4 separate regions of the Homo sapiens genome follow, and regions 2, 3 and 4 are each linked to region 1. The links are contacts of gene promoters, found by promoter capture Hi-C in blood cells and fetal thymus (Javierre and others, 2016). All regions are on one chromosome and are shown on one strand. The core of a region is centred on a gene start or on the middle of the fragment in contact, and the rest is flanking DNA. Distances in the headings are between cores, read along the strand shown. Region 1 holds the start of C19orf81 (chromosome 19 open reading frame 81). Region 2 holds the start of KLK4 (kallikrein related peptidase 4). Region 3 holds the start of KLK13 (kallikrein related peptidase 13). Region 4 holds the start of KLK9 (kallikrein related peptidase 9).

The links. Contacts are between HindIII fragments. The CHiCAGO score rates a contact against its expected background, and 5 or more counts as called.
Region 2: a contact is called between the fragment with the promoter of KLK4 here and the fragment with the promoter of C19orf81 in region 1, in 3 of 17 cell types (erythroblasts, total B cells and neutrophils). The highest score is 11.1, in erythroblasts.
Region 3: the fragment with the promoter of KLK13 here is called in contact with the fragment with the promoter of C19orf81 in region 1 in 8 of 17 cell types (M1 macrophages, M0 macrophages, naive B cells and 5 more); the score reaches 10.8 in M1 macrophages.
Region 4: a contact is called between the fragment with the promoter of KLK9 here and the fragment with the promoter of C19orf81 in region 1, in 2 of 17 cell types (M2 macrophages and M1 macrophages). The highest score is 7.3, in M2 macrophages.

Annotation. Positions count from the first base shown.
Region 1 is chr19:50,647,474-50,653,066 of GRCh38, reverse strand. It overlaps C19orf81 (chromosome 19 open reading frame 81), which reads right to left and starts at 3,622. Exons shown (of 5, transcript NM_001195076.2): 1 at 3,556-3,622. The coding sequence starts at 3,622. It also overlaps a transcript of SYT3 not described here. RefSeq lists an enhancer at 4,689-4,738. The HindIII fragment of the contact is 10,880 bases long and covers 1,348-5,593 here.
Region 2 is chr19:50,908,560-50,914,447 of GRCh38, reverse strand. KLK4 (kallikrein related peptidase 4) reads left to right here and starts at 3,053. Exons shown (of 6, transcript NM_004917.5): 1 at 3,053-3,109; 2 at 3,699-3,770; 3 at 5,034-5,196; 4 at 5,619-5,869. The coding sequence starts at 3,710. The HindIII fragment of the contact is 22,926 bases long and covers 1-5,888 here.
Region 3 is chr19:51,063,406-51,069,308 of GRCh38, reverse strand. KLK13 (kallikrein related peptidase 13) reads left to right here and starts at 4,217. Exons shown (of 5, transcript NM_015596.3): 1 at 4,217-4,293. The coding sequence starts at 4,242. The HindIII fragment of the contact is 5,030 bases long and covers 2,837-5,903 here.
Region 4 is chr19:51,006,579-51,012,390 of GRCh38, reverse strand. KLK9 (kallikrein related peptidase 9) reads left to right here and starts at 2,799. Exons shown (of 5, transcript NM_012315.2): 1 at 2,799-2,886; 2 at 3,052-3,208; 3 at 5,668-5,812. The coding sequence starts at 2,844. RefSeq lists enhancers at 2,416-2,916, 5,313-5,812. The HindIII fragment of the contact is 11,592 bases long and covers 1-5,812 here.

The DNA.
Region 1 (5,593 bases), core at 2,373-4,872:
GACTCTAGTGCCAAAATAAAATAAAATAGAATAGAATAAAATACTTTCCATTGCATCCTCACAACAACCTTCCGAGGTAGTGTTGTTTAACACATGATGAAACAGAAGCACAGAGAGGTTAAGTGACTTGCCCAAAGTCACACAGCACAAAATGATAGAATAAGGATAAAAATGTAAGCATCTGGATCCAGTGTGCGTGTTCTCAATCTCCCCAGGTGCCTTCCTCTCACCTCACTCTCACCTGGTCTCCTAACTCCTCTCGCTCTCCAGTTACCCCAGCAAGGCAGGATTTTGACATGTAGACCTGACCCTATGGCCCCTTCCTCAAAACCCTCCCAGGACTTTTCATTGTCTGTGGGATGAATAAAGTCCAAAGTCCTTCCAGTGACCATAAGACCACACGTGATCAGACCGTGCTAGTGTCTTAAACCTGATCAAGCACAATCGTCCTTTTCACCTGCTGCAGTCCAAAAACGCTGTTTTTCTGCGACTTGGACTCTCTGACCCCTCCTGCTGCAGGATCTTGGCCAATGCTGTAACTCTGCGTGGATCTCTCTTCCCCCTCATTTGGCTAATCAAGTCTCCCTGAGGGTCCACTGATGCCATTCCTCATAGCACAGTATGTTTGTACTCATAGTATTGCAATTTTACCTTTATTTCTATGATTCCCTAATTACACTCTGTCTTCCCTACGTCTTCTGAGCAACGTAAGGGCAGGGACTTGTGTTTTCGTCCCCAGCATCTAGCAAAGTGCCAGGCTTATAGTTGTCCTTAGTATTTATTGAATAAAGCCTGAAATGTGTGCACTTTGTTTGGGCCCTAATTTAAACAAGCCAACTATAAAAAAATACAATTTTGAGATAATTAGGGAAATTTAAATATGTACTAGGTATGAGATGATATTCAAAAATAATTATAGGCCGGGCATGGTGGTTCACACCTATCATCCCGGCACTTTGGGAGGCTGAGGCAGGAGGATCGCTTGAGCCCAGGATTTTGAGGCTGCAGTGAGCTACAATGGTGTCAATTCATGCCAGCCTAGGTTACAAAGTGAGTCCCTGTCTCAACACAATAAATTAATTTTAAAAAATAGCCTTGTACAAGCGTTAAATGAATCAAAAAGTAACTCTAGCAGCATCAAAGATGCATGTGAAAAAATGTGAATACAATAGTTTCTCATGAAATATGACATTAGAAATAAGAACTATTTCTAGTTACAACAGTGATTTTAATATATGTAAATGTATTTAATACATTTAAATGTATATGTGTAATTAAATTAACATAAGCATAAACTTAAAAATAAGTACTTATTGAAAAATTGAGGAAATGCAACCATTTCAAGCTTTTTTTTTTTTCCTTTGGTGACAGAGTCTCACTGTGTTGCCCAGGTTGGAGGGTCATGGTGCAGTCATAGCTCACTGCAGCCAGGAACTCCTGGGCTTAAGGGATCTTCCTGTCTCAGCCTCCCAAGTAGCTGGTTAAATTTTTTTAACAGGCATCTCAGAGGGCCCCTGTGTGCCTTGGAGGATGCTGGGGACCAAGAGATGAATGAGACACACCTCTGCCCTTTCAGAACTCTCAGATAAAGGGCAATGTGTGTTTCAATGAAAGTGTTACAAGGTGGAGGGAAAGCCCAGTCTCCCGGTCTAGGGGCAATCAGGGAAGGCTCTCTAGAGGAGGTGTCCACAGTGAGACCTAAAGAATAAGAAGGTATTTACCAAATAAAGAGGTGACAGAGAGAAGGATGTTTCCCATGAAGGGCCTAGCATGGGCCAAGGTTTTTGAGCAAAAGAGAAGAGAGTCACCTGCAAGAACTTCCCAGAATTCCCTTGAGCCCCAAGACTAAAGAGCGCTTATTGCCATTGGAGGCTATGAATGATCTGTGAGATGGCGTGTTTCACGTCTCCTCTCCCAGCATGAGAACAAGCCAGGCCGTTTCATCCATTAGGCACTACAGGCAAAATGCTTGGGACCCAGGGGCTTTCTAATGGCCTATGCTGAAGTTTGCAACCTGATCAACTAAAAAATGTGATTGGTTCCACAACGCTGCAAAGAAAACAGCAAAATCGAAATGAACAAACGTCGATCAACAAAACTAGCCAACTGGTCGACTCAACTCCACTTGACTTTTCTGGAGCTACATATAAATTACATGTCACGTGGGTGCCTCAGTCTAGGCTAGAGATGGTGCATTGTGGGGTCTCCAAAAGAAAGATGCCTTCAAAAGCACTAAAAGAGACCTAAAGGCAGAGAAACAACGCCTGTTTTGCCATCAGGGCATTTGTTCGGCCTCGAAGGCTGAGGTGGGAGGATCACTTGAGCCAGGAGCTCAAGGCTGCAGTGAGTTTTGGTTTTGGGTGTTTTTGTTTGTTTGTTTGTTTGTTTTGTTTTTTGAGACAGAGTCTCCCTCCATCACCCAGGCTGGAGTGCAGTGGCACAATCTTGGCTCGCTGCAGCCTCTGCCTCCTGGGTTCAAGCGATTCTCCTGCCTCAGCCTCCCTAGTAACTGGGATTACAGGCACCCGGCACCACACCTGGCTAATTTTTGTATTTTTAGAGATGGGGTTTCACCATGTTGGCCAGGCTGGCTGGCCTTGAACTCCTGACCTCAGGTGATCCACTCACCTCGGCCTCCAAAGTGCTGGGATTATAGGCGTGAGCCACCACACCCAGTCCTGAGTTTGGTTTTCTATTACCTGCAGTTACATGCATCCTCACTGAGATACTACTCCATAAATGTTGAATGAGTGTAACTGCATGAGCTGTGCTACAGCACAGAGTGCTAGCAGGAAGTGCTGGGCTAGGAGCCTGAAGTTGTCAGCAGGGGTCAGACCACACAGGGCCTCAAAAGCCAGGCTGGAGCTTTGGGTCTCTGTCCTAGAGGTGACAGGAAGCTAGGAAGTGTTATGAGCAAGGGACAGCCAGGATCACTGCAGGAAGTCAGAGAGACCTCTCTGGAGCCATGGAGGGATAGGTAGGAGGAGAGAAACTGGGGACCAGGGAGGAGGTGAGGAGAGGGTCCACATGGAAGAGGATGAGACCTGGGACAGGGCTGCGGGGACAGAGAGGAAGGAATGGGGAAGGGAGAGTCAGAGGGCAGGAAGATAGGGCCTGATGGGCTGTGGGAGGGAATTGTGGGAGGTGGAAGGATGGCACCAGTGACTGGGTTGGCGGTGGGGCCATTTGAAAATGGAAACCAGGAAGGAGGAGAGCAGCTTTGGGGGAAGATGCTGAGCTCAGGGTGGGAGACAAGACAGTGAGGTTACCTAGGAGAAGAATGGCCTCAGAGGTGTTGCTTAGGCCCCAGAGGCTCATGGGAAATGTAGTTCTGAGTCCAGGGCATTGGCCAAGGAACTGCAGAGGCTCATGGGAAATGTAGTTTGAGGTCCAAGGGGGCCGCTCTCCAGGAATCTGGTGAATCCAGGAATGCTAGGGATGGCTTTCACTTTGGAGTGCCAGTGACTCGCTTAAGGCCACACTGTGAGCCCGGGCTACTACGCACTGCCTGGATGGAGGAAGTCCACCCCTTCCCCCAAAGACACAGCTCAGTACCTGCCTTCCTGTGCATGGTGGGGCTGCCCATGGCAGGGAAGCACACGGGCTCCACCTCTGGCTGCATCCTGGGAAGGTGGGTGAGGGATGTCTCAGGAAGGTGGCAAGAGAGGCTCTGCCTGGGCCACCCACCCCAGCTCCTTCTCCCCACCGCTGCCTCCTCTACCTCCTCTTTGAAGCCCCGGGGTAGAATTACAGAGGAACTGGAAGGCTGAGACCATGTGGAGATCTGGGTTCCCCTGACCTCAGGGACTCCCTGTGTGCCCCAATCCCTTCTTTCCCATTTCCCTGTTTTTCCTCCTATCTCTCTCTGTCTCCTAGAGTCCCTTTCCCCACCCCTCTCTCTCCACCTCCCTTCCTCATTCTCTCCCCATCTCTCTGCCCCCCTGCCTCCTCCCCTCTGTCCCCACGTCTCCACCACTCTTTTGCTTGATTTCTCTGCCCTCCTCCTCCCTCCTTCTCTCCTGGGCTCCATCTCTTCAGTCTCCATCAGTTTCCCCAGCATCTCCCCAGGCCCCCGTCCCTCCTTGTCTTCATCGTTTTCTGCCTCTCCCTAACCCCGTCACCCTCTCTCTGTCTTCCCACCTCTCACCAGTCTCCTTGCCCCATCTCTATCCTCTCCTAGCTGCCTCCACTGCCCCCTTGAGGCCCCCTCCCCTCTGTCATCCCCTTTCTGTTCCCACTTGCCCTCTGCTCATCCCTGCCCCAGCCAGGAACTGGTTAGAAACAGGCGAGATTCCAACGAAAGTGGGTTCTCTAGTGGGGAGGGGATGGTGGGCAGGGGGCCTGGTTGCCATGGTGCCTCCAGAGGGAGGGGGAGGGGTGGGGGCCTGGATTCCTGGGTCTGAGGGAGGAGGGCCTGGGGTCTGGACTCCTGGGTCTGAGGGAGGAGAGGATGGGGGCCTGGACTTCTGGGTCTGGGGTCTCACGGGGCCTCTCGTGCTAGAGAGAAGGGGTCTAGCCGTGTAGGTGCCTGTTCAGCATCCCTTTCTCTGGGTCTGCAGAGCTCTCTGCAGGAATTGTGGGAGAGGAAGCTGGACCTTCGCTTATTTGTTTTGTCTGTCCTTGCAGTCTTTGTCTCTGTTACTTGTATCTCTTTCTCTTCCTCTTTCTCCACATCCAGATGGTCTCTGGACTGTCTGTTGTTCCTGCTTACTAAGTATTCGTTCTAGGTGGTGGCACCTTGATTTCCTCAGTGATTTGTTCAGTGGCGAGCTTAAGAATCAATCTAGGCTACAAAGTCAACCTTTGGACTTTTGCTGGACCTGTTAGAAAACAGGGTTTTTCCCCTGTGGTTTTGGGGCTGGTCAGAGCCAGGGTTGGAGCTCTCGGTGCTACCACATCACCATGCAGGGAGATAACTTGCCTGAGAGCAAAGACAACACGAGGGAAGCATAGCCCAAAGATACAGACAGTTGGATTCCTGGAGATGATTGGAACACCTGGATCCAGCAATGCCTGAAGCCCTCATCCAATCAATAAACTTCCTTTTATGCTTAGGTCAATTTGATTTGCGTTTCCGTTATTAGCAATTAAAACAGTCCAGATTGAAATAGTCTTACTCAGTTCTGGGGGCCCTGACCCCCTCCTGGCATCTTCACATCTGCTTCTCTCCCATCAAGCTGTCTTCCATTTCCAGCTGGCAATTTTATCTCAGCGGGATGGAGGACATGATTGCCTTGACCACAGGCACACCTGACCCTCACAGCCTATCTGTCTCCAAGTTCTATTCCTTCTGCCTCTCCTTCCTCTCCTCTCTACTCCCATAGCTCTAGCAGCCACTCAGACCTCGTCCTCTCCTGCTGGGACCCTTGCCCCAGCCTCCTTTTTTGTTTGTTTGTTTTTGAGACAGGGTCTCACTGTGTCCCCCAGGCTGGAGTGCAGCGGTATAACAGCCTTGACCTCCCAGGCTCAAGCAATCCTCCCACCTCAGTCTCCCGAGTAATGGGGACCACAGGCCCACACCACTACGCCCAGCTATTTATTTTTTTTAAGATGGAGTCTCACCGTGTTGCCCAAGCTGGTCTCAAACTCTGGG
Region 2 (5,888 bases), core at 1,804-4,303, 260 kb before region 1:
AGACACAGACAGAGAGACAGAGACAGAGATGGGAGGAGAGAGAGACACAGAGAAAGATGGACAGAGACATGTGCGAAGCCACAGACAGAGAGACAGAGACAGAGATGGGAGGAGAGAGAGAGACACAGAGAAAGATGGACAGAGACACAGGTGCGGAGACACAGACAGAGAGACAGAGACAGAGATGGGAGGAGAGAGACACAGAGAAAGATGGACAGACACACAGGTGCGGAGACACAGACAGAGAGACAGAGACAGAGATGGGAGGAGAGAGACACAGAGAAAGATGGACAGACACAGGTGCAGAGACAGACAGAGAGACAGAGACAGAGATGGGAGGAGAGAGACACAGAGAAAGATGGACAGACAGGTGCGGAGACAGACAGAGAGACAGAGACAGAGATGGGAGGAGAGAGAGACAGAGAAAGATGGACAGACACACAGGTGCGGAGACACAGACAGAGAGACAGAGACAGAGATGGGAGGAGAGAGAGACACAGAGAAAGATGGACAGAGACAGGTGCGAAGCCACAGACAGAGAGACAGAGACAGAGATGGGAGGAGAGAGAGACACAGAGAAAGATGGACAGAGACACAGGTGCGGAGACACAGACAGAGAGACAGAGACAGAGATGGGAGGAGAGAGAGACACAGAGAAAGATGGACAGACACACAGGTGCGGAGACACAGACAGAGAGACAGAGACAGAGATGGGAGGAGAGAGACACAGAGAAAGATGGACAGACACAGGTGCAGAGACAGACAGAGAGACAGAGACAGAGATGGGAGGAGAGAGACACAGAGAAAGATGGACAGACAGGTGCGGAGACAGACAGAGAGACAGAGACAGAGATGGGAGGAGAGAGACACAGAGAAAGATGGACAGAGACAGGTGCGGAGCCACAGACAGAGACAGAGATGGGAGGAGAGAGACACAGAGAAAGATGGACAGACACAGGTGCAGAGACACAGACAGAGAGAGAAGGCAAGGTGAGACAGAGACAGGAGGAAAGAGAGACACACAGGGGCAGACAGAGACAGACAGAGATCAGAGGGTCACAGACAGAGGTCAGAGGGAGAGCGAGAGAGAAGGGATCAGAGAGAGAAAGGGACAGGGACAGGGAAAAGAGAGACAGAGACAGAAACCTGCCAGGGCTTCCTGTTCTGTGGTCCCAGCCTATGTCCCGTCCTGCCCAGAGTTATCTGGGGGCGCACGGGCCCAGGACAGAGTTGGGGGAGGGTCTCACTTGGGATGCTTCCAGTCTGGCAGGTGAGAGAAACAGAGACAAGGGGGAGAGAGACAGAGATGGGACCAGAGAGGCAGAGGAAAAGAGAGCCAGAGAGAAAGAGAGACAGACACACGGGGTGGGCTGTGGGGGAAAGAAGTAAGGAAGGAGAAGGAAAGAGTGTTAGAGACCCAGGAGAGACAGAGAGACACAGAGACATTCCTGCCTCGTCGCGGTCACCTGCGGGCACTATCCCTCACCCGCGCCGGCTCCGCGGTCTACACCCACCCACTCCTTGGATGATCTCACCCGGCCTCGTGGCTGTAAACACCACCTCTCCCCTGATGAGTCCCCGCTGTTTCTCGGCAGTCCTGACCTCGGCCTGCCCCTCCGTGCACCCTCCGCGGTCTACGGCACCCTCTCACCCCCCACCCCCCTTCCCGCACCTATGCGTCTCCACAAGATCCGTAGAGCGCAAGCCAGCAGACCAAGCCTCCACGCCATCCTTGGCCCCTCTGCTCCTGGCCCCCCACTTTCCATCCATCGGGCAGTAACTTGGCTCCACATGCAGAGGGGACCCCGTGTCCATTCACCTCTCTTCTCCCTTGACCCCGTCACCTCCCACCTGGGCTGTTGCCACTGCCCCCCGCCCCGCCCCCACCATCACTCTCCAAGCTGGAAGTTTTTAAAAAGTAAATAAGATTATGTCACTCCATCCTCGTGCTTAAAATCCATTGCACTTAAGTAAAACCCAAGCTCCTTAATCCTGGTACGTAAACTCCTGCAGGCCCGCCCGGTTCCCGGTCTGCGCTCCTACCCGCCCTGCCCTCCTACCCGCCCTGCCCTCCTCTGGCTGGAGCCAAGTTCTCCCCTGCACCCCGCAACCGCCCCTGCTGCGGCGACCCTCCTCCTCCTCTTCCCTGGGATCTCAGCTTAAATGTTCCCCTTCTCTGAGTCTCCCCGACCACCACCTTATATGCTGGTCCCTGCAGTTTTCCTTTATGGTCTGTGCCCCCGGGTAGGACGCGATCCCCAGTGACGAGGACTTTGCTGGTTCCTCCTGTGGCCCCAGCACCTGCCGCAGAGCTCGGAGTGTGGTAGGCACTCAGCTGCTTTTCACTGAGCGAAGACTTTTTAGTTCTCCCGCTCACCGAGAGCCTACAATGTGCCTGGCACTGTGTGCCTTTCCCTGAATTACCTCTTTGAATCCACTTGGGAAATGGGGCATAATGGTCACTCCAGTTTTACAGTTGGAAAAACAGGCTCACAGGGGTGCAGTCACTTGCCCAAGGTTCCAAAAATAGTTCGTGATGTAGGCTGGATACGAACCTGGGGAAATTTGCTGGAGAAGCACAGAAAGAGAGGGATGAAGGAGGAGGGGAGAGAGAGAGAGAGATTTAATTTAAAAAGAGAAAGAACATGAGAGAGAACAGGAGAGAATGAGAGGAAATGAAAGAAAACACGAGAAAAATAATGAGAGAGAGAATGAGAGAAAGAAAGAAGAAGAGAAAGAGAAAATGAGAGATACAGGCAAGAGAGAGGTATCTCATGAGAGAGAATAAGAACATGAAAAGAGAAAGAATGAGAGAGAGAGAGAGAAAGAAAAAGGAGAGTGGAGTCTAGGATCTGGGCAGGGGTCTCCTCCCTGGGTCCCTAGACCCTGCTGCCAGCCCCTTCTGGGCCCCCAACCACTGCCTGGTCAGAGTTGAGGCAGCCTGAGAGAGTTGAGCTGGAAGTTTGCAGCACCTGACCCCTGGAACACATCCCCTGGGGGCAGGCCAGCCCAGGCTGAGGATGCTTATAAGCCCCAAGGAGGCCCCTGCGGGAGGCAGCAGGCTGGAGCTCAGCCCAGCAGTGGAATCCAGGAGCCCAGAGGTGGCCGGGTAAGAGGCCTGGTGGTCCCCCACTAAAAGCCTGCAGTGTTCATGATCCAACTCTCCCTACAGCTCCATGTCGCTGGATTCTCAGCCTCTGTGCCTTCTGTCTCCACATCTCTCTAGACAGATCTCTCACTGTCTCTAGTTAGGAGTCACTGTCTCTAGTTAGGGGTCTCTCTGTCTCTCTGAATCTATATCTCCATGTCTAACTCTCAGACTGTCTCTGAGGATATCTCTCAAGCACTCTGTCTCTCCGGCTCTGATTCTCTGTGTGTCTTCCCTCCATGCTTGTTTGTGGGTGGCTAGACACCATCTCTCCCCATTCACAGATGGCTAGATGCTTTCTCTAAACTTTCCTTTCTACCTAGTTCTCTCTCTCTCTCTCTTTTCCCATCTCTCTCTCTCTTTTTCTCTCTCAGTCTCTAAATCTGTCTCTCTAGGTTCTGGGTCCATGGATGGGAGAGGGGGTAGATGGTCTAGGCTCTTGCCTACCTAATAACGTCCCAGAGGGAAGAAAGGGAGGGACAAAGAGAGGGATGGAGAGACTTGGGCTGAAGATCCCCAGACACGGCTAAGTCTCAGTCCTCATCCCCAGGTGCTGACGTGATGGCCACAGCAGGAAATCCCTGGGGCTGGTTCCTGGGGTACCTCATCCTTGGTGTCGCAGGTATCTGAGTATGCGTGTGTGTGTCTGTCCGTGCTTGGGGGCACAGTGTTTGTTAATGTTCAGGTGTGACTCAGTGTCCTCTTGCTTGTGACTGCAAAGCTGCCTGTGAGACGGTACCGTGTTATCCGTCCCCCATGGCTGTGCCCCTGCAACTCCTTGTATCGTGGTAAATTTGTGTGTGGCAGTGTGCCTGGGTGTGTGGTTGTACCTGTGAGACTCTGACAGTTTGTGCCTCTGAATATCTGGTGGAGTGACAACAGTGTAATGATGATATGGGGACAGGGGAAGCCGAGGGTGCAGGAGATTGTGCTTCCTGGGGCGTGATCCATTGCTGGGAATCTGTGCCTGCTTCCTGGGTCTTCAGTCCTGAGATCCCCCTCTCCCATCCCCAAGGAACTCACCTCACAGGACTATAAAACGGTGTTTTGGTGTGCATGGGCTTGTGGCTTGGTGTGACTGTGGGCAAGGCTGGGAGAGGATAGGAGTGACTCGGCGCAGGACCGACTCTTTGAGCATCAGTCTGCGCAGACAAGTGACCCGATCCTTGCTCCCAGCAACAACTCCACCCCCTGAGCTTTAATTCACCCCGAAGGACCCGATCCTACTGCTATGAGCCTAGACTCCTCTGTTGAACCCCTCCTGACCGTGGCTTTGCACCGCGATGGCACCAGTCTCACCTCCAGAGCTCACCCCAGAGCCCTGACTCCGCCCCAGAAGCCCTGGTCCCACCTTCTGAGACTGCCTCTAGCCATAACCCAGCTCTTGAAGCCTTGATGGCGCCCCTGCGCTGTAACCCCAACCCTAGGAGCACTGATCCCGCCTTCTCAGCCCACCCCCATGCCCTGACTCTCCTCCCAGGAGCCCTGACTACCCTGAATCCCTGACCAGGCTCCTGCACCGTGATCACCGCCCCTGGGAGCCCTAGGCCTATATCCTGGACCAGCCCCTGAAGCTCCGATCATGACCCCTGCACCATAACCCCACCCCCAGGAGCCCTGGGTCCGCCCCCTGGGCCCGCCCCCAGCCCTGACTCGGCCCCCCAAGAGTCCTGACTGCTCCTGAAGCCCTGACCACGCCCCTGCTCGGTAACCCCTCCCCCAAGAGCCCTGGGCCCGCCTCCTGAGCCCGTTCCCAGCCCTGACTCCGCCCCGAGGAGCCCTGACTGCTCCTGAACCTCTGACCACGCCCCTGCTCGGTAAGCCCACCCCCAGGAACCCTGGGCCCGCCTCCTGGTCCCGATCCCATCCCTGACTCCGCCCTCAGGATCGCTCGTCTCTGGTAGCTGCAGCCAAATCATAAACGGCGAGGACTGCAGCCCGCACTCGCAGCCCTGGCAGGCGGCACTGGTCATGGAAAACGAATTGTTCTGCTCGGGCGTCCTGGTGCATCCGCAGTGGGTGCTGTCAGCCGCACACTGTTTCCAGAAGTGAGTGCAGAGGTAGGGGGAGTGGGCAGGGCCTGGGTCCGGGGGCGGGGCCTAATATCAGGCTCATCTTGGGGTGCTCAGGGGGAAACAGCGGTGAAGGCTCTGGGAGGAGGACGGAATGAGCCTGGATCCGGGGAGCCCCAGAGGGAAGGGCTGGGAGGCGGGAATCTTGCTTCGGAAGGACTCAGAGAGTCCTGACTTGAAATCTCAGCCCAGTGCTGAGTCTCTAGTGAACTAAGGCAAGTTCTTGTCCCTGAATTTTTGTGAATGAGGATTTGAGACCATGGTTAAGTAGCTCTTAGGGTGTTTAGCGAAGAGGGTGGGGTTGGGGTTAGGAGATGGGGATGGGAATGGGGTTGAAGATGAGAATGGAGGTAAGGATGTAGTTGCCACAAAACTGACCTGCCCTCCGTGGCCCACAGCTCCTACACCATCGGGCTGGGCCTGCACAGTCTTGAGGCCGACCAAGAGCCAGGGAGCCAGATGGTGGAGGCCAGCCTCTCCGTACGGCACCCAGAGTACAACAGACCCTTGCTCGCTAACGACCTCATGCTCATCAAGTTGGACGAATCCGTGTCCGAGTCTGACACCATCCGGAGCATCAGCATTGCTTCGCAGTGCCCTACCGCGGGGAACTCTTGCCTCGTTTCTGGCTGGGGTCTGCTGGCGAACGGTGAGCTCACGGGTGTGTG
Region 3 (5,903 bases), core at 2,968-5,467, 420 kb before region 1:
AGAGACGGCCCTTGGATTCAGTACCGTGGAGGTCACTGTTGCCCTAAACAGGGGCATGGTTGGTACAGCAATGGGAGAGAAAGCCTTCATAGTGTGGGCTCCAGGGAGGACGGGAGGACAGGAATTGCAGGCAGTGAGCTTAGCCAACTTTTTAGGGAAGGATTGCAGTTGTACAGAGCAGAAAATGGGCCAGGAGCTGAAGGAGAACATGAGAGTGGGGAGAAATTTTTGTTGGTTGGTTTTCAAATTTTAACGAGAGATGGGAGAAACTGTAGTATATTTGCATGCTAATGGGGCTGCTCCTTGGAGAAGAAGGAAAACATGTTGCAGGAAAGAGAACAGAGAACTGCTGGCTGGAGCAATGCCCTCCAGAAGGCAAGAGAGGACAGGATACCAGCACCAGTGGAGGCATCTATCTTAGCTGCAGGTGCAGACTGTTCATCTAGAGAAATGGGAGAGGAGACAGAGGATGTGGGCACGCAGGTAGGTGGCAAGACCGACCTTTCTAATTTTTGCTATTCTGATGGATGAAAGCGATGTGTTATTGCTGCCTGGGATGCATGATGACTGGAGCCACATCCTGAATAACACGGATCCAGCTCTAAAGAAGAATCCATGTTTCTCAACTCTCTGTGCCTCTTTCTCACCAAGAGTCTGCTTCTCACTGGGCATCTCTCTCTTTCTATCTCTGTGCCTCTGTCCTCTGAATTTTCTTTCTGTCCTCTCCCACCTGCCCCATCTTTCTGTCTCTGTGTATTTAGCCCTTTGTATCTCTCAGTCTTCCCCTCCCTTCATGTTTGCGTTGGGGCCCCTCCTCTGGGCCTGGGTGTGGGGCCTACTTTCTCATCCCAGCTAGCACTTCCAACCAGAAGTTCCAGTTCCTGCTTGACAAAGAATCCCATTTTGAAGCCAAGATAGGGAGGGGCCTCCTGGAACCGTCAGATGCCTCCATCTTAAGCTTTACTTATTTAACAGGAGCATTGTGGCCCTTGGTCCATGCCACACTCTCTTCGAAGCATTTTTGGGTATTAATCCAGTTAACCCTTCTCCATAAGGCAAGTGCTATTGATTGTGCCATTTTACAAATGGGGATGCTGAGGCACAGAGCAGTCACATCATCTGAACTCAGGCAGTCTAGCTCCAGAGTCTGAGGTCAGAACCACTAGGAACACCATCTCTTTTTCGGGTCCTTTCTTCTTCTTTCTCCAGCCCGGTTCTCTGTGGTGGAGGAAAGACCTGCACCTGTGACAGAAGCGCACTTGGATTTGGTCCAGTTTGTGTGTGACTTTCAGCCGTGGGCTTGTTCATCAAGTGAGGGGGTGGAAGGTGCCCAGCCCTCAGTGGGTCCATGACCTCACTTCAACCAGAGCTACCCAACCCGCGTTCGGCCAATCATAACCCCTAACATCAATTTGACCTGGCACTCACCCCTCAGCAAATAACAAGGCCAACCACCCTCACTCCAGGCTCCAGCTTTTCCCAAGTGAGAAAGGCTTCTCTGGAAGCATGGACCCAGGTCACAGGAGGGTACAAGTACCCCGATTTCCCACATAAGCTGGTTGCCGCACTTAACCTGGCATCCTACCTCCAGCCACACCACCTGAACACAATTCCACTCAAAAAGTGAACTCAGACCCCGCCCTGTGAGGTGGGAGAAGTCCAGGGTGGAGAAAGACAGTGACCTTTCTTTCACCTTGAGAGGTGGGGTATGACCCAGCTCACCCCCACCAAAACCTACTGCATCATAGACACTCAACCTCATGGCCAGTCCTCATCACCCATGTCAACCCACTACCCCAGCTCAACCACATCTTAACATTTCCCCATCCAAAACCTCAATCTTGGTTCCATCTTCAGCCCCAACCCAACAGTACCCCAACACCAACTTATCCCTAGATACCTCCCATCTTACAATCTAATCCTATCCCAAAACCAGCTCAACTACCACCTCCAACTCTATACCCATCCTCATCCAATTTTCATTCACCTCCCCAAACTCATTGCATTCCTAATGTTGTCATCAGGCCCATCCTTAACCATAGACTCTACTGATTTCCTATATTAAGCCATATTTTTCTTCTTAGCAAAATACTTTGAAATGGACCCAACATTGGACACTGAGGTGTCGCCAATGCAAAGTTAGATGGGTTATCTGATTTTATGAGGTCTCTGTACCCTTTCCTGTCTTTGAGCCACTTTATGACTCTAAATTGTAGGTATCTGAGAGCAATGCAAATAATTCTTGTCCATAAATGTTTACATGAATTTTGCCAGGTGGAAGTACAATGGATTTCCCTCCTCCTCCCAGTGTGGAATAGCCAGTTTTGCATCTATTTGTAAATTCATTTCAGCATTCCTCGTTGTCTCTGTGCATATGGCTCTTTGTAACATCTTACTGGCTCTGCCATTTATTAATGAGTCAAGATACAATCTTTGACACATGTTCATTTCATATATGTCAGAGAGTCATGGTAAGACCATGTTTTAAAAGTTACCCTTTGACACTAGATTTGATCTCCACATCCAAATCTGAACTCCATCAATAAGGACTGTACAAGTTTCCATGTGAGCCCTCGCCCCATCCATCTCTATTCTTTATCCTCATTGTGACACCTCCACTCTCTCACTCTTTCCAAACTTCATCTGGTCCACGTCCCTGGCTTTCTTCCAAATTCTGACCCCACCTCAGTCCTTAATCCCTAATCCTGTCCCCTCCACCCCCTAGGATTAACTCAGGGCTCCACCCAGTCATAGTTCCTGGAGACACCTACTCATTCTCAAAACACCACCCCTTCCTCCTTCCTCTCCCCCACCCCCAATCCACGTCTTCAAAGCTTTCCGGCTCCTGCTTTTTCCTCTCCACCTAGGTCCCCGTGGACTCCCTCACCCCCTCTGGCCCTGCTCCTAAAAGGCCATTTCTGGAAAATGTTGCTTTCTCAGGTCGCATCTCTGCCCCCATCCAAGTCCGAGGGAGCTGATTTTCTATCCACCCAGCTGATGATTTCCTTCTTGTGTCCGGTGGTTGGCGGGAGCAGGGAGGCAGGATGATGGGATAATTGTGGGTGTCCTTGTGTCTTTCAAAAGAAAAAGGGTTGAGATGAGACTGGGAATTGGAACCTGGATGTGTTGAGAGCTAAACCTGAGATGAGGTTGGAGATGGGACTGGGGTTGAGGAACAGGCTGGAGTACTTGGTATGGTTAGGGATGGATAGGGAGGTGGGAATCTGATAGAACACGGCCATCTGGGGGCTGACTGCCTATTAAGAATTATGCATGGGGTTGGAGAAGAGGTTAGAAAACTGGGTGCAGAATGGGTTGAAGTTAGGGATGGGCATGGAACTCAGCGGGGTAGGGGGAAGGAAATGGGCTTTCCCCTTACCCTTTTTTGGGTCCTGAGGCCTGAAAGTTCACAGTGGGTTCAACTCTGCCTTGGGCGGGGTCAGACCTAGGTCCCAGCACGTCCTGGAAGCTCCGCCCCAAGCAGAGGGCCAAGCCCAGGTCGGGGGTGCCTGGAGACATCCCGCTGAGCCACTGGGGGTGGAGAGGGGGAGGCCAGGGACCAGGAAATGCTGAGTGAGCTGGGGGAGGGAGTTCAGGGGTTAAAAGCCATGGTTCGGGGCTGAAGTTCTAGACAGCTGGCGGCTGACGCTCCTCGTGGGCCCCTCACTCAGGTAGGGTCTGCCTGGGGCGGGGGCGGGGAGCGGAGGAGGGCAGGGAGGGGAGAGAAGAGGGGATAGGAAGGATGGGGAAAGCAGAAGGGCAGCTGAGTCAGGGAGAGGGAGAGTGAAGCTAGAGTCTCAGATCTAGAGAGAAACCTGCAGAGACGGAGAGAGGCGAAGGGCGCGGACAGATAAGAACTTGGGCTAATACCAAGCGTGTGGACAGACCCAGAGGGGTAGAATGGAAGGCAGACTCTGGAGGAAAAGGGCGAGAGTGCACCGACCACCCAGCTCGCCAGAGGGCAGGGGAGGAGGGACGGCTTCCTGGGGTGAGGGGCTGCACGCCGGAGCCCCAGGAGGTTGCACACTGTTCCTCCCACCTCGCCACTGCACCCCCACCAAGGATGGAATTGGAGGCGGGGGGCAGATTCCAGGGTCAGGGCTGTCAAGAGTGAATGAGGCGAGGAGACATTCAGGAGCAGAGAGGTTTCAGACGCGGAGGTTCCGGGCACGCCCTCAACACCCCCTTCACCTTCTCCTCAGGCCCCGCCCGCCCTGCCCTCCCCTCCCGATCCCGGAGCCATGTGGCCCCTGGCCCTAGTGATCGCCTCCCTGACCTTGGCCTTGTCAGGAGGTAAGAATGCGCGGGGGTGGAGGCGCGGCGGCCATTCGGGACAATGGTAGGAGGGGTCAGGCCGGAGGGGGAGGGGGCGTGGGAGCCGCGAGCTCCGCCCCCCGCCCACTCGGGGCCGGGTCCAGTGGGGACAGCTCAGAGCTCTTCCTGCTTGTCCCTGGGTGACCTGGTTTCCCGGCTGAGGTTGGCCCTCCGACCCCAGACCCTTCACCTCCCAAAATACCCTCGCAGCAGCCCCTCCCGCGTTCAAGGCTTCCTGTCCTCTCTGGAAAGCTGAAAGACATGGGTTCGCGTCCTGACGCTGCCGCTTTGAGCCAGTAGCCTAGCAGCTGCTTTGTGCCTAAATTGTTTTCATCTGGAAAATGGGCTTAATCTATAAGTGCTTACCAGAGAAGGTCACTGTGAATATTGAAACGAGGTAATGCGTCGAGCCTTCAGTATGTCGCAGGTAGAAGGGACTTGAAAGTTAGCCACTTAGCCGTTATTACTTTATTAGTAGTATTCCTTTTTTTTTTTTTTTTTTTTTTTGAGATGGAACCTTGCTCTGTCTCCCAGGCTGGAAGGCAGTGGCACGATCTTGGCTTACTGAAACCTCCGCCTCCCGGGTTGAAGCGATTCTCCTGCCTCAGCCTCCCGAGTAGCTGGGATTACAGGCGCCCGCCACCACGCCCAACTAATTTTTGTATTTTCAGCAGAGACGGGGTTTCGCCATGTTGGTTAGGCTGGTCTCGAACTTCTAACTTCAAGTAGCCCGCGTCAGCCTCCCAAAGTGCCAGGATTACAGGCATGAGCCACCGAGCCCGGCCTCTAGTATTCTGTCTTCATACTCAGCCCCTTCCAGAACCTTCTAGATTGTTATTTTAATCCTTGGGTTGACCCCAAACCTATGTGACCTCACCCCAAATTGGTAGTCCTTAAGATCCTTATGGATCTTTCCCATCTTTCCCTGCCGTTGTAGGCAGGTTCTCTGGAAACCCCGTTCATGAATCATTTATTCATTCAACAAACAGCTATTAAACACCGGCCACTGTGCTGGGTGCTGTACAAGCAGAGACACAGTCCCTGCTCTCAGCACCTGGAGTCTAGCGGGGACAGACGCAGATGTTATTCAAACAATTATCCAAATAATTAGTTAATAATTATCTTGACATGAGGTGAAGACTTCAAGGAGCCAAGCCAGGGGCCTAGAGATGTAATGGCGGCTTCCCGACCAGAGGCCTTCCCAAAGGGCTTGACCCTTGAGCCAAGACCTGAAAAAGGAGGGATCTGTGGGTGCCTGGCACCTGGCACCATCCTTGGCCTGAAGGTGGGGTGGCTTTTCTCCTCTGGCGACACTCCCTGGATTCATGCCCGTGCCACTCCTGAGTGCCACACCCTAGGCTAGGAGACCCACACGCTACGCCTTGTGGAGTCCTCAACAACCTGGCGAGGTAGGTGCATTGTAATTACTCCAATTTCATGGCAGAGAAACCTAGGACTCAAAGACAGAAGGCTCCTGCTCCAATGACACCGGCGATGCCTGAGTCAGAATCCTAATCAAGGTTGTTTTCCCTGTCCATATCCTGGACTTGAGGCTCTGAAAACCATTTTTATAACTTTTGACCTAATCA
Region 4 (5,812 bases), core at 1,550-4,049, 360 kb before region 1:
AATGCTGTCTCTTCCTCAGTTTTCACTCTGTGAAATGGAGACACCTGCTTAATTAGACTCCCGTGAGAGTTAAATGAGATAGGCTGGGCGCAGTGGCTCACTCCTATAATCCCAGAACTTTAGGAGGCTGAGATGGGTGGAATGCTTGAGCTCAGGAGTTTAAGATCAGCCTGAGCAACATAGTGAAACCTCGTCTCTACTAAAAAAAAAAAAAAAAAAAAAAAAAAAATTAGCCTTGCATGGTGGTGCACACCTTGTAGTCCTAGCTACTCAGGAGGCTGAGGCAGGAGGAATACTTGAGTCCAGGAGGTTGAGGCTGCAATGAACTATGATCATGCCGCTGCACTCCAGCCTTGGCAACAGAGACCCTGTGTCAAAAAACAAAAAACAACAACAACAAAAGGATAATTAAATGAGATAATATACATGCAAAGTTCACCTAACACCAGGCACTGAGAACACAGTCAATAAAGGTAGCTATTAAAATGCTCATTTTTTTTTTATTTTTCTTTTGAGAGTCTTGCTCTGTTGCCCAGGCTGGAGTGCAGTGGCACGATCTAGGCTCACTGCAACCTCTGCCTCCCGGGTTCAAGCAATTCTCCTGCCTCAGCCTCCCGAGTAGCTGGGATTACAGGCCGCCCGCCACCATGCCTGGCTAATTTTTGTGTTTTTAATAGAGTCAGAGTTTCACCATGTTGGCCAGGCTGGTCTTGAACTCCTGACCTCAAGTGATCCACCCACCTCGGTCCCCCAAAGTGCTGAGATTACAGGCGTGAGCCACCGCGCTTGGTCTAAAATGCTCTTAATAGCAGTTAAGGTGGCACTTAGCACATAGTGGATACCCAGTCCCTGATCTCAAGGACTTCCCTGTCTGGAAAGGGAGTGAGACAACTGCAGGCAAGGGTGAAATGAGCTATGATAAAGGCACCACAGGTTTCTGCAGGGGATGAAGAGACATTGAACATTTACCATGTGTCAGACACTGTTGTGCTTCATGTGTGTAAATTTGCTTAATCCCCCCAACGACCCTCGTTATTACTGCTACTTAACAGATGGAGCAGGCCAGGTGCGGTGGCTCACGCCTGTAATCCCAGCACTTTGGGAGGCTGAGGCAGGCGGATCACGAAGTCAAGAGTTGGAGACCAGACTGGCCAACATGGTGAAACCCCGTCTCTACTAAAAGTACAGAAATTAGCCAGGTGTCTTGGCGCACGCCTTTAGTCCCAGCTACTTGGGAGGTCGAGGCAGGAGAATTGCTTGAACCCAGGAGGCAGAGGTTGCAGTGAGCTGAGATCGCGCCACTGTACTTCAGCCTGGGTGTCAGAGCAATACTCCGTTTTGGAAAACAAACAAACAAACAAACAAACAAAAAACAGATGGAGCAACTGAGAGAGGTCTTGTGACTTGCCCAAAGTCACACACCTCATCACTAATCACACCTAATCATTGAGATTTGGACACACATGGTTCAGTTCCAGAGTCCATGCTCCAAACCATGACGACACAGTGAGAGAACATTCAAGGGGAGCCCAGACCCAGCTTCATAACCAGGCCTGTGAGCAGGAGAAAGTGGAAGGGATCGTAAGTGCCCAGGGGAGGCAAAGATGGACTCTGCCTGAGGATCTCAGAGATTTCCTGGAGGAGGGAGAATTGAGGTTGGGTGTTGAAGGATGAGTGGGAGTTCACCAGGAAAAGAAGGATATGGAGAAAGACATTCACTCATTCAATGAACATCTCCTGAGGACTTCTGCAAGCCCTGTTCCGCCTGGAACGGGGTGATGCTGGGACACAGAGATGAGTCAGACCTGGGCCCAGCCCTCCAGAAGCTGTCCACCTGGTGAGAAGGAATGATGAGGAGAGAGGCAGGGAGGATGGGGTGATGGAAGGGACAATGGGGTGGGGGGCAGGGAGATGGATGAAAAAAATATATAGCAAATGTTCTCAGGATTTGGCAAAGATCAGGATGTATTAAGAGAGAGCACAGGGCACTTGCTACCTGGAAGGTTGGGCACCTGGGTCCTTGGGTGGTGGAGCCGTGGGGAAGGGGGCAGGTTATGACAAGAGTGGGTTAATCCAGATGGAACCAGATTTCTCAACATTCTAGGAGAGGGCCTTGTCCTTGTGGGAAGAGGCCCAAATCCCCAGGGCAGGGAAGGTTCTGCAAGGTGTGTAAACCTGTGCAGCTGCCTGTGGTCTCTGCCTCACTCCACCTGGATTTCCCTCAATCTTTCCCGTGTTCTGTCTCCTCCTCCCACTCCTCCTCTCATCTTGGGTCCTTCTGTGCCTGTACCTCCCTCTCTTTGTATCTTTTGCTCTTGTGTCTGAGTCCTGACTCTGTCTTCCACCCCTCGCCTCCTTTCTGGGTGGTCCCCCTGCACATCCCTCCAGCCTGCCGTGGGAGGTTGGTCTCTGCACACCACTGCTTTATCCAAAATAAACCTGCTGCACCCCAGGACCTTAGGCTTCAAGGATCTCCCTCCTTTTCCAGGACACAAAAGATTCTGTATCTTGTAGCCTAAGGTGATGAGGAATGAGGTCTCCCACTCTGAAGACCCCAGAGGAGGTGCCCACAACCTCTCCACACCCCCAGCACTCCTCCTCCATTCAGTCAAGCTCTGGCCCAGCAAGCCGCCAGTTCATCCCAAAAGGGGGGTCCCCCTGCACTTACCTCCTCTCCCAAGGCCCCTGTCACAGCCCCAGGGCTTCCCCCTCCCCCAGGTACATTTCCCAACCCCGATTAATCACAGGGGCGGCCCCATGGAGGAGGAAGGAGATGGCATGGCTTACCATAAAGAAGCACTGGACGCCGGGTGCACGTTCCAGGATCCAGGTGCCCAGGGGTCATGAAGCTGGGACTCCTCTGTGCTCTGCTCTCTCTGCTGGCAGGTGAGGCTCCCAGGCTGGCTGCCCCTTCACGGCTGTACTAAGGTCACCTTGCTCTTCCCTCCCATCCCAGGCTTCTGCCTCCTGCCCTCTAGGCTTCTCAGCATCCTCTCCCTGCCCTCCCAGCCTGCTCTTCGCTGACCCCTTTGTCCCTCATCCCCACCCCAGGGCATGGCTGGGCAGACACCCGTGCCATCGGGGCCGAGGAATGTCGCCCCAACTCCCAGCCTTGGCAGGCCGGCCTCTTCCACCTTACTCGGCTCTTCTGTGGGGCGACCCTCATCAGTGACCGCTGGCTGCTCACAGCTGCCCACTGCCGCAAGCCGTGAGTGACCCAGGCTGGCCATGCTGGGGAGGGACAGAGGCTGGGGGTCAGGAGAGGGTGAGGGGTGCTTTAGGCCAGAAGTGCGGAGCCTCCACTTCTGATACCACAAGTTCAACTCTTAGAAGTAGGAAGGGTAGCCTCCCAAATCCTAAAATTCTAGAGACCAGCAATATCTCATTTGAGAAGTCTAAGATTCGAAACTTAGGCTCTTCGAATCCGAGACTGACCCAGAGAAATCCAGAATCGTAGAATCCTAAAATCTTGAATTTATGAAATTCTGCAATAGCCTCAGCAAATTTTAGAATCATAGATTCGCAGACTATTAGAATCTTAGCAGTCTGGGTCAGCACTGCCCAGAGGAATTATGATGCCAGCCACATGTGTAAGTTTAAATTTCTGGTGGACACATTTAAAAAATAAGGAATGAGTAAAATTAATTCTAATAGATTTAACTTGACATACCCAAAAACTTATTTTGACATGTAATCAATTTTTAAATACGTATGAACGATACAGTTTACTTTTGTTTTGGTACTAAGCCTTTGAAATCTGTTCTGTATTTTACACACATAGCCTGTTACAAAATGGACTAGCCACATTTCAAGTGTTCAATAGCCATAATGGCTAGTGTGATCCTAGAATCTTAAATTCAGAGCTTTCTAGATTCATTGAATATTGAAACTCACAGTACTAGAATCTTTGATTCACAGTATCCTAGAATATTGAGATTCAGATAATTCTGTAGTCTTAAACTATTTGAATCCCAGACTCTTAAATTTCTAAGGTTATAGATTTATAGAATGATGACATTCTAGTCTTTCTTTTTTTTTTTTTTTTTTTTTTTTGAGACAGAGTCTCCCTCTATCTCCCAGGCTGGAGTGCAGTGGCACAATCTCAGCTCACTGCAACCTCTGCCTCTCGGGTTCAAGCAATTCTCCTGCCTCAGCCTCCTGAGTAGCTGGGATTACAGGTATGCACCACCATGCCAGGCTATTTTTTTTTTTTTTTTTTTTTTAGTAGAGACGGGGGTTTCACCATATTGGCCAGGCTGGTCTTGAACTCCTGACCTTGTGATCTGCCCGCCTCGGCCTCCCAAAGTGCTGGGATTACAGGCGTGAGCCACCGCGCCCAGCCAAAATTCTAGTCTTTTTGTCCTAGAACATTAAAATTCTATGTTCAAATCTTAGATTTAATTCAGATAATGTTAGAATCCTGGAGTTTTTTTGATCCAGGGGAATCTGGAATGTTAGAATCTTGGATTCATAAAACTCTAAACCTTGAGCCTCTAGATTCTAGAATCATGGATAATAGTGTGTCGGAATCTGAGAATTCTAGAATCTTAGGTTCTGGGCATTCTAATAGTATCCTGGAATCCACCTGATGCAGGAATCCTCTCTCCATTGCCTCTGAAAAGTGACCATCCATACTGTTCCAATTTTCTTCCCTCCATGAGTAAAGCACTGATTGTGGTAAGAGATGCTGTGTGGGAATTTCCCATCATGCATTGCTCCATGATGGAACCTCCTTTAACTTAAGCCTATACATCAGACTGGGAGAACGATGTTCAGATTTCAGCCGAAAGTGAAGCAGGAGAAATGCAGAGATATGAAGGTGGAAGAGAGTGAGAGGCAGGGGAAGGGTAGGGGGATGAAGGGATGTAGGGGTGAGGACTACTTTTCCAGATCCAGAGCCAAGACAGCAAGAATGACAGAGAGAGACAGACACAGATGTTTCTGGTTCCCCAACCCTGAATTCGCAGTCATTAGCCTGCTGCCTAATGTCAGAGGTCAGAGGCTGGGGAATGGACTTGTCATCCCCGAAAGGATCCCAGCTGTCTAGGGCATGGACCAGAAATGAAACAAGTGCGCTGAGACTGTGGTGAGGGCTTAAGGTTAGACACCAGGAAGACATGCATTGAAGGGTGAAGGATATGATAGACAGGAAAAGCTGAGGCCAGAGATGACCCCCAATTTGGGGATTTTCCATATCCCATCCCCTTTCATACACACGCACACGTATACACACACACCACTTAGACATACAGAGCCGCTCCCACAGAAGCCACCAGACCTGTGGGGGCAGGGGTGGGGCGGTTGTTATGTGGTAGGTGGGGTCCCCCGTGCCCACACCGTTCCTAGGGACCCAAGTCACCACCAAGGCTCCAGGTGAGTAGGGAGGAAGGTGGCTCACTCAGCCTGGGACTAGGAGCGGGGGCTTTGTGGGGAGAGCTACAAAGATGGAGACACACAAAACATCAGAGTGGGGACCAGGGACCCAGAGGAGGTGTGTGCCTCGCTTAAAATCACAGTACCCTGGGCCAGACATAGATGATGAGGGTGCAGAGAGGGTGTGTGGCTTGCAGAGGGTCACACAGCACCCTGATGGACAGGAAAAGAGGGCTGGGGCTGAAAGGACTTTTACCTTTCCCCCAGCTTGACCTCTGAGGCCTGTCCCAGCAGGTATCTGTGGGTCCGCCTTGGAGAGCACCACCTCTGGAAATGGGAGGGTCCGGAGCAGCTGTTCCGGGTTACGGACTTCTTCCCCCACCCTGGCTTCAACAAGGACCTCAGCGCCAATGACCACAATGATGACATCATGCTGATC